Linked DNA regions of Homo sapiens: regions 2 and 3 are each linked to region 1. Evidence: promoter capture Hi-C in human tissues and cell types (Jung and others, 2019). All regions are on one chromosome and are shown on one strand. The core of a region is centred on a gene start or on the middle of the fragment in contact, and the rest is flanking DNA. Distances in the headings are between cores, read along the strand shown. Region 1 holds the start of SGCZ (sarcoglycan zeta). Region 2 has its middle 29 kb from the start of TUSC3. Region 3 overlaps SGCZ (sarcoglycan zeta).

What was found. Contacts are between HindIII fragments. The study calls those that stand out against the background at their distance.
Region 2: a contact is called between a fragment that was not itself captured here and the fragment with the promoter of SGCZ in region 1, in 2 of the 25 tissues and cell types used here (dorsolateral prefrontal cortex and hippocampus).
Region 3: a fragment that was not itself captured here is called in contact with the fragment with the promoter of SGCZ in region 1 in 2 of the 25 tissues and cell types used here (dorsolateral prefrontal cortex and hippocampus).

Annotation. Positions count from the first base shown.
Region 1 is chr8:15,236,340-15,240,848 of GRCh38, reverse strand. SGCZ (sarcoglycan zeta) reads left to right here and starts at 2,418. Exons shown (of 8, transcript NM_139167.4): 1 at 2,418-3,264. The coding sequence starts at 3,226. The HindIII fragment of the contact is 17,338 bases long and covers 1-4,509 here.
Region 2 is chr8:15,509,160-15,513,618 of GRCh38, reverse strand. It overlaps a transcript of TUSC3 not described here. Among named protein-coding and RNA genes, the nearest start is that of TUSC3, 29 kb to the left of the region's middle. The HindIII fragment of the contact is 6,907 bases long and covers 1-4,459 here.
Region 3 is chr8:14,906,981-14,911,353 of GRCh38, reverse strand. All of the region lies in intron 1 of SGCZ (sarcoglycan zeta), which reads left to right. Among named protein-coding and RNA genes, the nearest start is that of MIR383, 56 kb to the right of the region's middle. The HindIII fragment of the contact is 6,182 bases long and covers 1-4,373 here.

The DNA.
Region 1 (4,509 bases), core at 1,169-3,668:
TTCCAAAACCTTCCCCTGTATCCTGTGCCATGCATCTGTGGAAAAACTGTCTTCCATGAAACTGGTCCCTGATGCCAAAAATGTTGGTGTATTAGTTCGTTTTTACACTGATGATAAAGACATAACCGATAATGGGTAATTTATAAAGAAAAAGAGGTTTAATGGACTCACGGTTCTGCGTGGCTGGGGAGACCTCACAATCATGGCGGGAGGCGAAACGCACTTCTCACCTGGAGGCGGTGAGAGAGAGTGGGAACCAAGCAAAAGGGGTTTCCCCTTATAAAACCGCCAGATCTCGCGAGACTGATTCACTACCATGAGAAGGGCATGGGGGAAACCACCCCCACGATTCAGTTATCTCCCACTAGTTCCCTCCCACAACATGTGGGAATTATGGGAGGGAAAATTCAAGATGAGATTTCTATGGGGACCCAGAAGCCATATCATTTGGGGACCACTGGCTTATAATGCCAGTCTGGTCAACATCAAATGTTGGATATAATTTCATATTTTAAAATTCACTACAGATAAATTAGAGTCTATATATATATATATATATACACACACATAAAATTAAGAACAATATCATTTTTTCTTTCAACTATAATATGTCATATTAAGAAACTGCAGTTTTCCCTTTGTGAATAATATTTAAACATCAACATTTTTCTATGGATACCTTCCTTGAACTACATTTTCACAACTGCAAATTGAAAACTTACCTTAAATAATATCAGTTTGCTAATATGTTCAAAATAAATTTGCTTGTTTTATTCAATTTTCTAAAGTTAGGCAATGACTAGTTGACAGGGAATTTCAAATTCTTTCATATGGAAAGACTTGACTTTCAAAAGCCTATGTATTAGGTTGGTGCAAAAGTTATTGTGTTTTCTGCCATTACTTTCAGTGGCAAAAACTGCCATTACTTTTGCATCATCCTAGTAGTTATCTTTGTTCATGTTGAATTGTTGATACTTTCTAGAAGAGAAGCTCTTTTTTAGAGTTAAAAGTCTTATATAAGTTCATCTACTCTCAGCCTGAACCTTTATTATTTTTCATCATATATTATGCAAAATAATTATGTCTTATAAGCACATGAAGTTTATTTTGAGAATCTGATGTTTGGCCCTACTCATTATGGACTTTTGGCTACTTGATGTTAATCTTAAAAGCTGTAGTCAGAAGTCAAAGTTTGAAAGAAAGATAGCTTAGGCAAGTGCATGGAATAGACTAGGCTTAAACTAATGAAATGGACATCCTCCATGAGAAAGCTGAGCCCTCCAGGCTTAGCTGCAAAGTAGAAGGAGAAAAACTGGGATGTGCTCCATTGGTGCCGGTGAGGGGAGGAGGGGAGTCATCAGGGTTTCAGACATTAGAATATTAACTGTAAAGGTTTCTTTCCACACATTTATCTGTTCCATGCACATTTGTGTGCTTATTAGCTGCTTGGCTCTTGGGACATTTGGTGAATAAGAACCGTCCAGAACATGCCTTCAAGAGTTTATAGTCTATTGGAGGAGTCAAACAAACAAACGGATAATAACAGCATACATTAAATAATGGTAAATTAAGAATGCTGCTACGACAAGAGGATAAAGGAGAATATCTGACAGACTCACCTGAGAAAAATTTTTCTCTGCTCAGGTGACTTTAGTCAGAAGCAGAAGTGTTAAAACTATAAAGAACTAGGGGGAGAGACAGCTGTCCTTAACGAGGGGGCAAGAATGGGAATTAAAGAGCCAGTACTGGCAGGTGGACCAATAGACTAGGTGGCTGGAATTCAGGGAGGCAGAGGACGGAGATGATGTTAGAGAGAGACCATGAGACTGGAATGTGCATATTAAATCCTAAAAAAAGAAACACTTTTTTTTTGAAACAAAAGTATTTATACAGCTCTGTTTCCAAATCTGTAAACATCTTTAAGTCTCAATAGTTTATGTGTCATAATAAAACAAGAGTCTTTAAAACGCTTCAAAAGTCAAGTTTTACACTGAGACATTTAAATGAAGAAAACGAGCCCTTTCCCCAAATCTACAACCTACAAGTTAAATGCACTGACCTGTCAGAATCTATGTAAAGAACAATTTTCTAATAAAAGACTGCTTTATCATAAGAAGCATCGTTCCAGGAAATTTCCTTTAATATTCTTATCTGTCACTTTCTATAAAAGTCTTTTTTAAATTAAAAAATCTGATGCTGAAAGCAGCAGAGATCTGAAGTGAGTATATTTAAATACATGTGGGTGATACACACAAGCATGTTCCTCCCAGATCTGCAGGAAGATGAAGCAATGTACGCAATGAATTAAAATGATTGTCACCTAGTGGATTCCGGACACAGGGCAGGCTTTAAGACCCAGCGATAGTATTTGTCTGGAGAGGAAATGTTGCTTTTTGACAGATGAGAGAAATCCCCTTAGTGTTGGCTGTGGGAAGAGAGAAGCGAAGTCAGTCACCTGGTGGTGAAGGCCAGTAAAACAGCGAAGCAGGAGGAAAATTTTTCTCTCCCTCTCTCTTTCTCTCCCTCTTTTTCTCTCCGTTGGATCCACCTCCTATTCCCTCAACTCTTTTAGCATAACCTTCAAAGGAGAACGTTCCCTTCTGACTTGATTATCTTCTTTTCCCCACTGAGAAAATACCTCTCAGCTACAAGACATTTTTTAAGTCTATGCAGGACTTCGGGGATTCTGTTATCTTGCCGGGGAAACTGATCATTGCTAATGCCTGGGACTGGAGCTAAATTACCTACCAGAGTAAGCCTGACGGAGGAAGCCTTTTATCATACACTCTTCTCTTCAGTTTGAACACATTTGCTTGAAATTTGCCGCATGATGCTGACCAGGGAAGCAGCTTTTTTTCTCGGGATGCAGCAATTCGCTGGGTTCTAAGCTTATTGCAGAAGAAGAAATAATCTTAAATAGAGTGGATTTTTTTTTCCTTTTTTCTTTTGGCCCCTGTTTCAATCGACTCAGCTGTGTTGCACCGCGGTAGAGATCACCTGTCACTAAATCTTTGAGGAAGTAAAATAAAGTGAATTATCATTATTATTTATTTATTTTCCTTATTTTTAACCCGGTGGAGGCGGCGTGACCACGGAGAATGAGACTGAGAGGAGCTGCCGGGGCTTGGAGGAGGATAAAGCTGAGTTTAAGCTGGAAACTAAAAGACTAGATTGTTTTTGGGTGCCACTCGCCCGGTTCCTCTCCACTTCGTTTAGTTGCGCTCCATGGACAGATCAACGAACCTGGACATTGAGGAGCTCAAGGTACGTGCGGGTCCGGGCGGGCTTCGCGGCCGCTTCTCGGCGCTCCCTGCTCTCCCCTCTCCTTCCCGCGGCTCCTCCAGCGGCGCGGAGTAGTTGGTGGTCCCGCGGGACGACGAGGGGGCGTTGGGGGGACGCGCACCCGGGCGCAGGCGCCCCTGCTGGGGCCGAGGACACGGAGGGTGGTTCTCCCGAGCCAGGCTGCACTCCCGGGCTGGGCGCCCTCCCCGCCTGCTCCTCCCGCCAGCGGCCACCCCGTCCTCCTCCTGGTCCGTGACGGCAGCATTTGGGGTGCAGACCCTGCGCCTCTTGCCGGCTCGTCTCCCCGGGGGGGGCAGCGGCACCAGCTCTGCCCGCTGTCGCCTGCTTTCCCAGCAAAGTTGTCCGAGCTGCGCCGCCACTTTGCCTCCTCTTCCCGGCTCCGATCCCGCCTGTGCCCCAGCCCGGCACGGGGACAGTGCATTTCCGCTCGGAGATTCGCGTGACAGAGGCATCTGCAACGACAGCCCGTTTTTATCCCAGAACTTCGTGAGACCCCTTTTCCCTCCCACCGCCCGCGGGCAGTGTTTCCTCCCGCAGTTGCAGTGCAGGGGCTGGAGAGGTACCCCCGCTGCCGGGGACGGCTAGCCTGCCCTAGCCCCAGGCGCGGGAGCAGGTCCGGGGACTCGGGCAGGGGGCGGGGAGGCGGGAGCCGGGCTGGTAGGGGCGGCATCTGCGGAGGCTCCGGCCGCACACGGTCTCCCACCAGCCTGGAGCCCCCCGCCGCTCCGCGGGTTCCCCGCGCCGCGCCCTCTCCCTCTGGGGTCCCCTGCTTGGCCGTGAGGGCCTGCCCGGAGGGAGCATCCGGGGTGACAACGCGCCCCTCTGCCTATGGGCACCTCTGCCTGCTTCCCTTCAAGAAAAAAAAATATATATATTTATATACACACAATAAATAAAAACTTTAAAAAACCAACAAACCACAAAATACTTTAAATGTCCCGCTCACCGTAAACGAAAAAGCGGGAAAGGGGGCGACACTGGAAGCACCTCTTTTATTGAAATCCTCCACCCTTCTTTACCCCTAGGCATTTGGTACGTTCTACTATTTCAGAGGTTCAGATGGATTCTGGCTTCTTTGATCAGTGAGAATGTTTAGGCACCCCCCCACCCGCTGGAGAAACGACGAATAGAGGTTTGCCCTGAAATGTCAAGGAAATGGGTTTATCCGACAAGCTAGGCAGGCTGCAAAATCCCCTGCAGAGCTCC
Region 2 (4,459 bases), core at 1,900-4,399, 270 kb before region 1:
ACCATTAAATCTACCGTCACTAAGACAGCATCAAGATTCTCAATTACGTTCTTGAGTCTAAAAAGGACCTAAGTTTAGTTATATTTTTTCTTTGCCTCTTGACTCAGTTTTACAAGCAGTTCCTGAAAACTTTGAATATAATCTTGTATTAAATTAGATTAGATTTTGCCTTCATGTTTTTAAATTACAGTCTGCAGTTCTCAATTTATATCCAGCAAATATCCCTAGGAAAGATAAAATGAAAAATTTACTTCCAACCAGCAACTTCCATCTCCTCATTAATGGTCATTTAAAAAATTATTTTTTATGAGTAAGTTTTTTTTACCCATGACTATAGTCAAGTTGCTTATCTACTGTGTGGTTTCTTTTATGAATTACAGCAATTATACTACATTTGTAGCTACCAAGTTGGTTAGCCTTAATCTTATGTTTTAGAGATATTTATCATAATCAATTTTTTGTATATGATGTCACACTCATTTGTGAGTTATTTTCATTTACTGTTTAGGTGGCTAGATTAATTTTTCGAGTAATAATTTTGGTAACGTTACAATTGTAATTCCTAACTTCTTGAATATATGGGGTTAAACGTGCAGCATGCAATCTGGGAAAAAAATTTGACTTATGTATGAGTGAGAATTTTCCAGAGAAAAAGAATCATATATATATATATATATATATATATATGATTATATATATAGATACATATATATACACCGAGAGAATTGTGTGTATATATATATATACACACACATATATATACACACACACACAAATATATATACACACACACACACACCCCAAGACAGAATGGGATTTATTGATTGATTGATTGATTGGTTGACTGAAACAGAGTCTTGTTCTGTTGCCCAGGCTGTAATGCAGTGCTGCAATCTCAGCTCACTGCAACCTCTCCCTCCCGGGTTCAAGCAACTCTCCTGCCTCAGCCTCCCATCTAGCTGGAATTATAGGTGTGTACCACCATGCCAAGCTAATTTTTGTATTTTTAGTAGAGACGGGGTTTTCCCATGTTGCCCAGGCTGGTCTCAAACTGCTGACCTCAAGTGATCTGCCCACCTCAGCTTCCCAAAGTGCTGGGATTACAGGTGTGAGCCACCGTGCCCAGCCAGAGAAACATTTATTGTTAAAGAATTAGTTCACATGTTTGTGGAGGGTTGGGCAGTCCAAAATCTGATGGAGTAGACTAGCAGACAGGAGACTCAGGAAGAGGTGCAGTTCTGGCCCAAAGGCAGTCAGCTGGCAGAATTCCTTCTTGTTCAGGGGAGGTCAGTTTTTCTTCTGTTAAAACCTTCAATGGAATGGGTGAGGCCCACCCTCGTTATGGTGAGTAACCTGCTTTACTCAAAGTCCACCAATTTAATTGTTAATCTCATCTAAAAAACACATTCACAGAAATATCTAGAGTATCGCTCTCCTGTTTCATTAATCTATTTCTCTAACTTTTTACAAATATCACAGTTTCAATTATTATAGCTTTATAGTAAGTTTTGAAATTACGTAGTACAAGTCTTCCAACATTGTTCCTCTTTTTCAAAGGTGTTCTGGATCTTCTAGGTTCTTTGCATTTCCATATGAACTTTAGAATCAGCTTGTCAATTTCTAAACACGCTTACTGGAACTTGGATGGGGATTGTATTGAATCTATAGATAAATTTAGGATCAATTGATATCTTTGTAATATTGAGTCTACTGATCCATGCTCCATTCATTTAGTACTTCTTTTTTTTTTGAGACTGTCTTGCTCTGTCGCCCAGGCTGGAGTACAGTGGCGCAATCTTGGCTCACTGCAATGTTCGCCTCCCAGGTTCAATCAGTTCTTCCTTCCTCAGCCTCCCAAGTATCTGGGATTATAGGCACCCACCACCACGCCCGGCTAATTCTTTTATTTTTAGAAGAGTTGGGGTTTTACCATATTGGCCAGGCTGCTCTCAAACTCCTGACCTCAAGTGATCTGCCCATCTTGGCCTCCCAAAGTGCTGGAATTACAGGCGTGAGCTACTGCACCCAGTCCTTTCTTATACACCTTTTATCAAATTTATCTGTATTTAGTATTTTTGGTGCTATTATAATTGGTGGTATTGTGTTTAAAATTTAAGGTTCTGACTGTTCATTGCTAATATAGAGAAATACAATACATTTTTGTATATTGACTTTGAGTTCTTCAACCTTGCTAAATTCACATATTTCTAGTAACTATTTTGTATATTCCATCACATTTTCTATTTATATGCATAATCATATCATCTACCAAAACTACAGTTTTGCTTTCTCTTTCTTCTATTCCAATCTGGATTTCCTTTCCTCACCTCCCTCCCTCCCTTCCTTCCTCCTTCCTTTCTTCCCTTCCTCCCTCCTTCTACTGGAGAGAAATTCATTCCAGCACTATACTGAATAGGAGTAGTAAGAGTGAACCTTCTTGACCTGTATTTGAACTTATGGGAGAAAGCATTCATGTTTTCACCATTAAGTTTGGTATTAGTTTTAAGTTTTGGGTTTTGTTTTTTGGGGGGTGTCCTTTATCGGGTAGAGGACGTTATCTTCTATTCCTAGCTTGCCAAATGTTTTATCCGCAGTGGATCTTGAATTTTCCAAAACATTTTTCTGCTTGTATGGAAATCAATAAATGGTTTTCCTTTTTAGTTTGCTAATAAGGTAAATGGCATTCACTGATTTTTCAACAAGTAAACCAATCTTGCATTCTACACATGAGCCCTCTGCCAATTTTAAAGTGATTCCATACACTGTTAAATTAAATTTGCTAACATTTTGTTTCGAATGTTTGTGTCCATAGTCATGAGGGATATTTGTCTTTCTGTTTTTTTTTAAATAGTATCTTGGTTTTGTAATGAGAGTAACACTGACTTCATGGAATAAGAAAGCATTCCCCGCTCTTAAATTTTCAGGAACAGTTTGTGTAAAATTGGTGTCATCTCCTCCTCAAATGTTTGATCAGATTTATCAAGAGAGCCATCTGGGCCTGGAGTTTTCTGTGTGGGAAGGTTTTTAACTACAAACTGATATTTAAAAAAATATATATAGTGTTGGGGTTGTCTGATTCTTCCTGGGTGAGCTCCCGTAATTATCTTTTATGTATTTGTGTATTTCACATAAGTTGTGAATTTACTGCATGCATTTATATATAATATTTCCTCATTATCACTTTAGCACCTGTAATTTCTGTAGTGATGTCATTGCTCTCATGTCTGATATTGGTAATTGTACCCTCTCTTCTTTCCCTGATCAGTCTTTTTAGAACTTTATCAATTGTATTGATCTCATAAAGAACCAGCTTCTGGTTTTACCAATTCTTTTCTTTTTCCCTTTTTTCTTTTAGGTTTTCTATTGCATTGGTTTCCACTTTGATTGTATCTATTTTTCTCCTTCTTTTGGCTTTAATTTGCTTTTCATTTTCAAGATTTGCAAATGTATTAATCTAAAGGCACTGATTTTAGATCTTTCTTCAGTGGTGTGATCATAGCTCACTGTAACCTTGAACTCTTGGGCTCAAACAATTCTTCCCCCTCAGCCTCCCAGGGAGCTAGGACTACAGTTGTGCACCTCCATGGCTCGCTATTTTTCTTTTTATTTTTTGTAGAGATGAGGTCTTGCTATGTGGCTCAGGCTGCTCTCAAACTCTTGGCCCCAAGCAATACTCCTGCCTAGGCCAACCAAAGCTTTCTGGATTCTCCTGGTAAGCATTAGATAACTGGGGAAATAACTTATTAAAATTTCAAAAATACATATTTTGGTCAACTAATATGCAAGAAAACAGTCTCCTCATAGATTCACATTCATCTCACTTACAGATTATTGTATTAGGCCAGTTAATGGATAGGGATGTAATATGAGCTTCAAAATCATCTGCATTTAGAGATGAATAGGTAAAGTCCAAAATATTAAGAAGTACAAAGCTACAGTTAAGACTACAAATTTGTCACGCTAATACTTAATCCAATGTTTCTGTGCTATTTTATTATGATTTTTTTTTTTGAGATGGTGTCTCACTCTGTCTCCCAGGTTTGAGTGCAGTGGCACAATCTCGGCTCACTGCAACCTCAGCCTCTGGGATTCAAGTGACTCTCCTGCCTCAGCCTCCCGAGTAGCTGGGATTACAGGCGCCTGCCACCTCACCTAGCTAATTTTTATATTTTAGTAGAGATGGGATGTCACCATGTTGGCCAGGCTGGTTTCGAACACTTGACCTCAAGCAATTTGCCTGCCTTGGCCTCCCAAAGCGTTCGGATTACAGGCATGAGCCATCACGTCTGGCCTTTATTATGATTTTGAATTTCACGTAGCATTCAGTTAAAAAAGTTAAGGAAACTAACTTAGATGGCTGTGGTTTAATTTATTGACAAGAGCATCAAGAAAGAAGAAAAGACTATCATCTCCAATATTTGCTCTTCTGTACTCTGTTGTTGGAAAACAATGTGGATTC
Region 3 (4,373 bases), core at 1,366-3,865, 330 kb after region 1:
GGTGTCTGCGTATTCCAAGGAAATATGGAGATCAGTAAATCAGTCAGAATCCGCTGATTTTGTTGGGATTTAGTAGACAGGAGGTAGATTTGAAATGTGAGTCATTAGGTTCTAATGAAGCCAGATGTGGACACCATGGTGATTACTTTGACAATTTGAATTACAGCCCTGCCACAGCCATTATCTGCTTACTCTGTTTTCTCTTAAAAGGTGAAAACTAAACCTGAGATGTGTCAGAGGAGTCAAAATGCTTCTTTTCTCATGAAGACAGTTTATAAAAATAGTAAAGCACATATGCAGAAGCATCCCTTTAATATATGACATTATACTCAAAGTAAGGATGTGTATTATTCGTGAAAAAATGAGTGATATGATTGTTAGAAGTGTGATAATTGTTCTGGGGAATAGATTGTAGAATATGTTTGTTAGTATATCTACTTTAAGGTCACTGATTAAGCTTATATATCTTCTAGGATGTATTCAACTTTTGCTTCTGAAAAAGCCATCTGGTTTTTAATAAGAATATGAATGTACAATATAAGCCAAGCTGAATAATTTCTTAAATGTATTATGAGGCATAAAATGACATCATTGTCTTCCTATTTTCATAATAGGTATAATAAAAATATATAAATTTGAAGAAATTTTGGGCAAAGTGCTTTAAAAGAATCAATAGCTCATTTTATTTTTACTTTACCGATGTTTTCTGTTAATGTCCATCATAAAATATCAGTGTATACCCAAAAAATGAACTAGAATTCTAGATTCAAATATTAAGAAAATATTAATGTTAAGAAAAATGGTTTATCAATACCAGCCAGAATTTTGGGAATGTTTTTAACAAATGTTTATGTACATTTAAAAAAAACAGATTTCAAGATTTACTAAATTTAAGATTTAATAAATTTAGTAAGATTTCAAATTTACTAAAAATAAGTTTTAGGTAAATGCTACAAACACTGAGTTAAGCCATTTTTAAGTTGTTTCCTGGTGTCCTTATGTATTAAATGGTACTGTGAGAGATGTTTAATAAATTTTAATTAACTGACTAAATATATATCAATGTGTATTGGTGAAAATCATTATAAATTAGAGAAATACTGTTTTAACCAACTGGGAATTATCCTTATCAAATTTAACAAATGATTAAATGAGTAGATGGAAGATATGTTACTGGTTTTGAAGATGGTACAAGCCTTTGAAGACTAAATAGGGTCATAAGTTTTATAGAATGCAACATCTCAAATAAGGTGAAATGTAATTATGATAAACTTACAGTTTTATATTTAGATAAGACAGCTTCTTATTAAAGCACAGGGTGGGGGACATAAGTGGCTAGATAGAGGCCAATGCATTAAAAATGGAGAGATTAACTGAAAAGTTCTCTTATGGGATGATAGAGTTAAATGGTTAAAATATAGTACAGTTTTTGGCTAAGCATAGAAATATGCTGTGCAAAATATGAGTTTCCACTATATAGCTACACTGGTCAAAGAACACCATGGAGAGTTGTTGGTTTCTGGATGACAGAATTGAGGGACACTTTTAACTAGTAGATGGACAAACCAGAGTGCTTTGAAGAGAATGAGGTATAATAAATTTTAAATAGCTGAATAAACATCTCCAAATTGGTGTTGATGCAAACCAGGCTGAGTTATTGGTTAGAACTATGCCTTATAATTAAAATTCCCATATTTCCAAACTAAAAATTTGACATATTATTTACTAAAAGACTTAAATATTTATGTTAAACTTATTGAAAGCCTAACAAATCATATTGATTTATAAAATTTACTAAAAAATAGTATGACGTAATATAAGACTTGGGAATGGTTAGCACAGATAAATCAGACACAGATAATTTAAGATAACCTCTTAAGATTTTAAAAGAAAAAGAAACAAAATTTATATAAAAAGGCAGAATTCTATTCAGTAAGAGAAATACGTTGTAACGTTAAAACACGAAATTAATTAAAGACAGTGAAGTTCACACCAAGAAAAATATGTAAACACTTCAAAAAAGGAATTATTTAAAAGGGATGTATTTGGCCAGGTAGACAACTGGATTTAGAGGATTTTTCGATAGCTTCACAATCTAACAAGTCATAATTTGAGGACAGGTGAATGCATGTAACAAGCCTCCTTTAATTTGGTCTCTGCTAATTGAAAATTATAGTAATTGATATAAGGAGTGGGCTGGATGTTAAAGTAAAATGATTAACTGAATGGATTAATAGTGTAAACTAGATGAGATACTTAATCAACTTGATGCACATGATTTGCAAACCTCTGCTTAATAATTTTGGAAAAATTGACTCATCATTAGAGTCCCGATTTTATGTCAAGCATTGTCCCAGGTGTTAGGAGAGAAATAATGACATAAAATACATAGGCATAATTATAGAGATAAGTTTAATCTGCAAGAAAAACATTTGGTGAACCTAATACAATGCACTTTGAAATTAAATAACAAACTATTCGTCGCATATAAATGCAGTAAGAATTCTAGGAATTCAGAATATCAGAAACTTTGTATCTCTGACATATTAATATTTTTTATAGTGAATTAGGTTCTCTGAATCTCTCTCTCTTTTTTTTTTTTTTTTTTTTGCAACGGTGACAGATCACCAGGCTGGAGTACAGTGGCCCGATCTCGGCTCACTGCAAGCTCCGCCTCCCAGGTTCCAGCGATTCTCCTGCCTCAGCCTCCTGAGTAGCTGGGATTACAGGTGCCTGTCACCACGCCCGGCTAATTTTTGTGTATTTAGTAGAAATGGGGTTTCACCATGTTGGTCAGGCTGGTCTCGAACTGCTGATCTCGTGATCCTCCCACCTGGGGCTCCCAAACTGCTGGGATTACAGGCGTGAGCCAGTGCACCTGGCCAGTTCTCTGAATCTTAACAAAAATCTGTAACTTGCCCATTTATCTATTTCTTTGTTTATTATACCCCTTGGTAGAATACAGTCTCATGGAGACTCTGCCATGTGCCTAGTGTCTGCTATACAATGGCCACTAGGTAAATATTTGTTGAATAATTGAACTTTTTCCCCTCATTTTCAAAACAAGGACCATACCTGTGTCTCCAAGTTTACTGAACATTTTGCGGACCAATTGAGGTAATTTAGATAAAAATGATTTAGAGAAATTTGCCATAATGCCTAAAAATATTATATAATTGTCACAAATTATTCCCATCAACTCATCAAAGAGACAGAAAAGGTTCTATTAACTACCTTTTTTGCCCTGACTTTAGATATGCTACATAAGTAACAAAACCAGAAATTTTTATTTTCAGTGGTTTCTATGTATCTGTTTCTGACCAAAAAGAAAAGAAAAAGCATACCAATTTCACATGATTCAACCTAATATGTAATTTTTCCTTGTTCAGACTGCCCTTTCTAAAATGCATTAGTTAATTATACTGTACTATTAATAACTATTCTTTCTCCTCAAATGGTTATTTGTTCTTGGTTGTATACATCCTAAATATTATTTTGGATGTACTTGGTATGTTTTAATAGTAGGGTTGAAATAGGTGGAATTAGCGCTTCTTTGCAGAAAAGTTAGTGAATTGTGGCTCATTTCTGTGCATGTAGCTTATATAGGTTGTAGTGTAGAGAGAGAGGGAAGACAACCCTAATGGACGCACTCAATTTTTATTCTTTATTTTATTTTTTGAGTCAGGGTCTTACTATGTTGCCCAGATTGGACTTGAACTTCTGGCCTCAAGCAACACTCCTACCTTGGCTTCCCAAAGTGCTGGGATCACTGTTGTCCAGCCTTTATTCTTTATTAAGAATAGTTAGTTATTGGAGGCATTTAGCTCCTCCAATAGTTGAAGCGGCACTTCTTAATAGTTAACTGAGGCTGGGAGCAGTGGCTTATGCCTGCAATTCTAGCACTTTGAGAGGCTGAGGCAGGAGGATCACTTGAGCCCAGGAGTTGGAGACTAACCTCGGCAAGATAGTGAGACATCATCTCAAAAAATAAAAATTATCCAGGCATAGTGGTGTGCCTGTAGTCCCAGCTACTCATGAGGCTGAGGTGAGAGGATCCCTTGAGGCCATAAGTACAAGGCTGCGGTGAGCCATGATTACGCCATTCTACTTCATCCTGAGTGACAGAGCAAGACTCTGTCCCAAAAAATAATAATGGGTAACTGTAAAACATATGAAACCCATTGAAAAAATAGTAGACTGTATCACAGAGGTGCCTGGATAAACTAAATTATCAGTTTATAGGCAAATTATTTACATTTCAGTGACCCAGTGACATGCATAAAACTAGCACCATGCTTTCAGGGAGAACAAAAATAAAAGTTTTATGGTAACATTTTGAGTTGTTTATGGGATATGATTTAAGGTTATTGAAT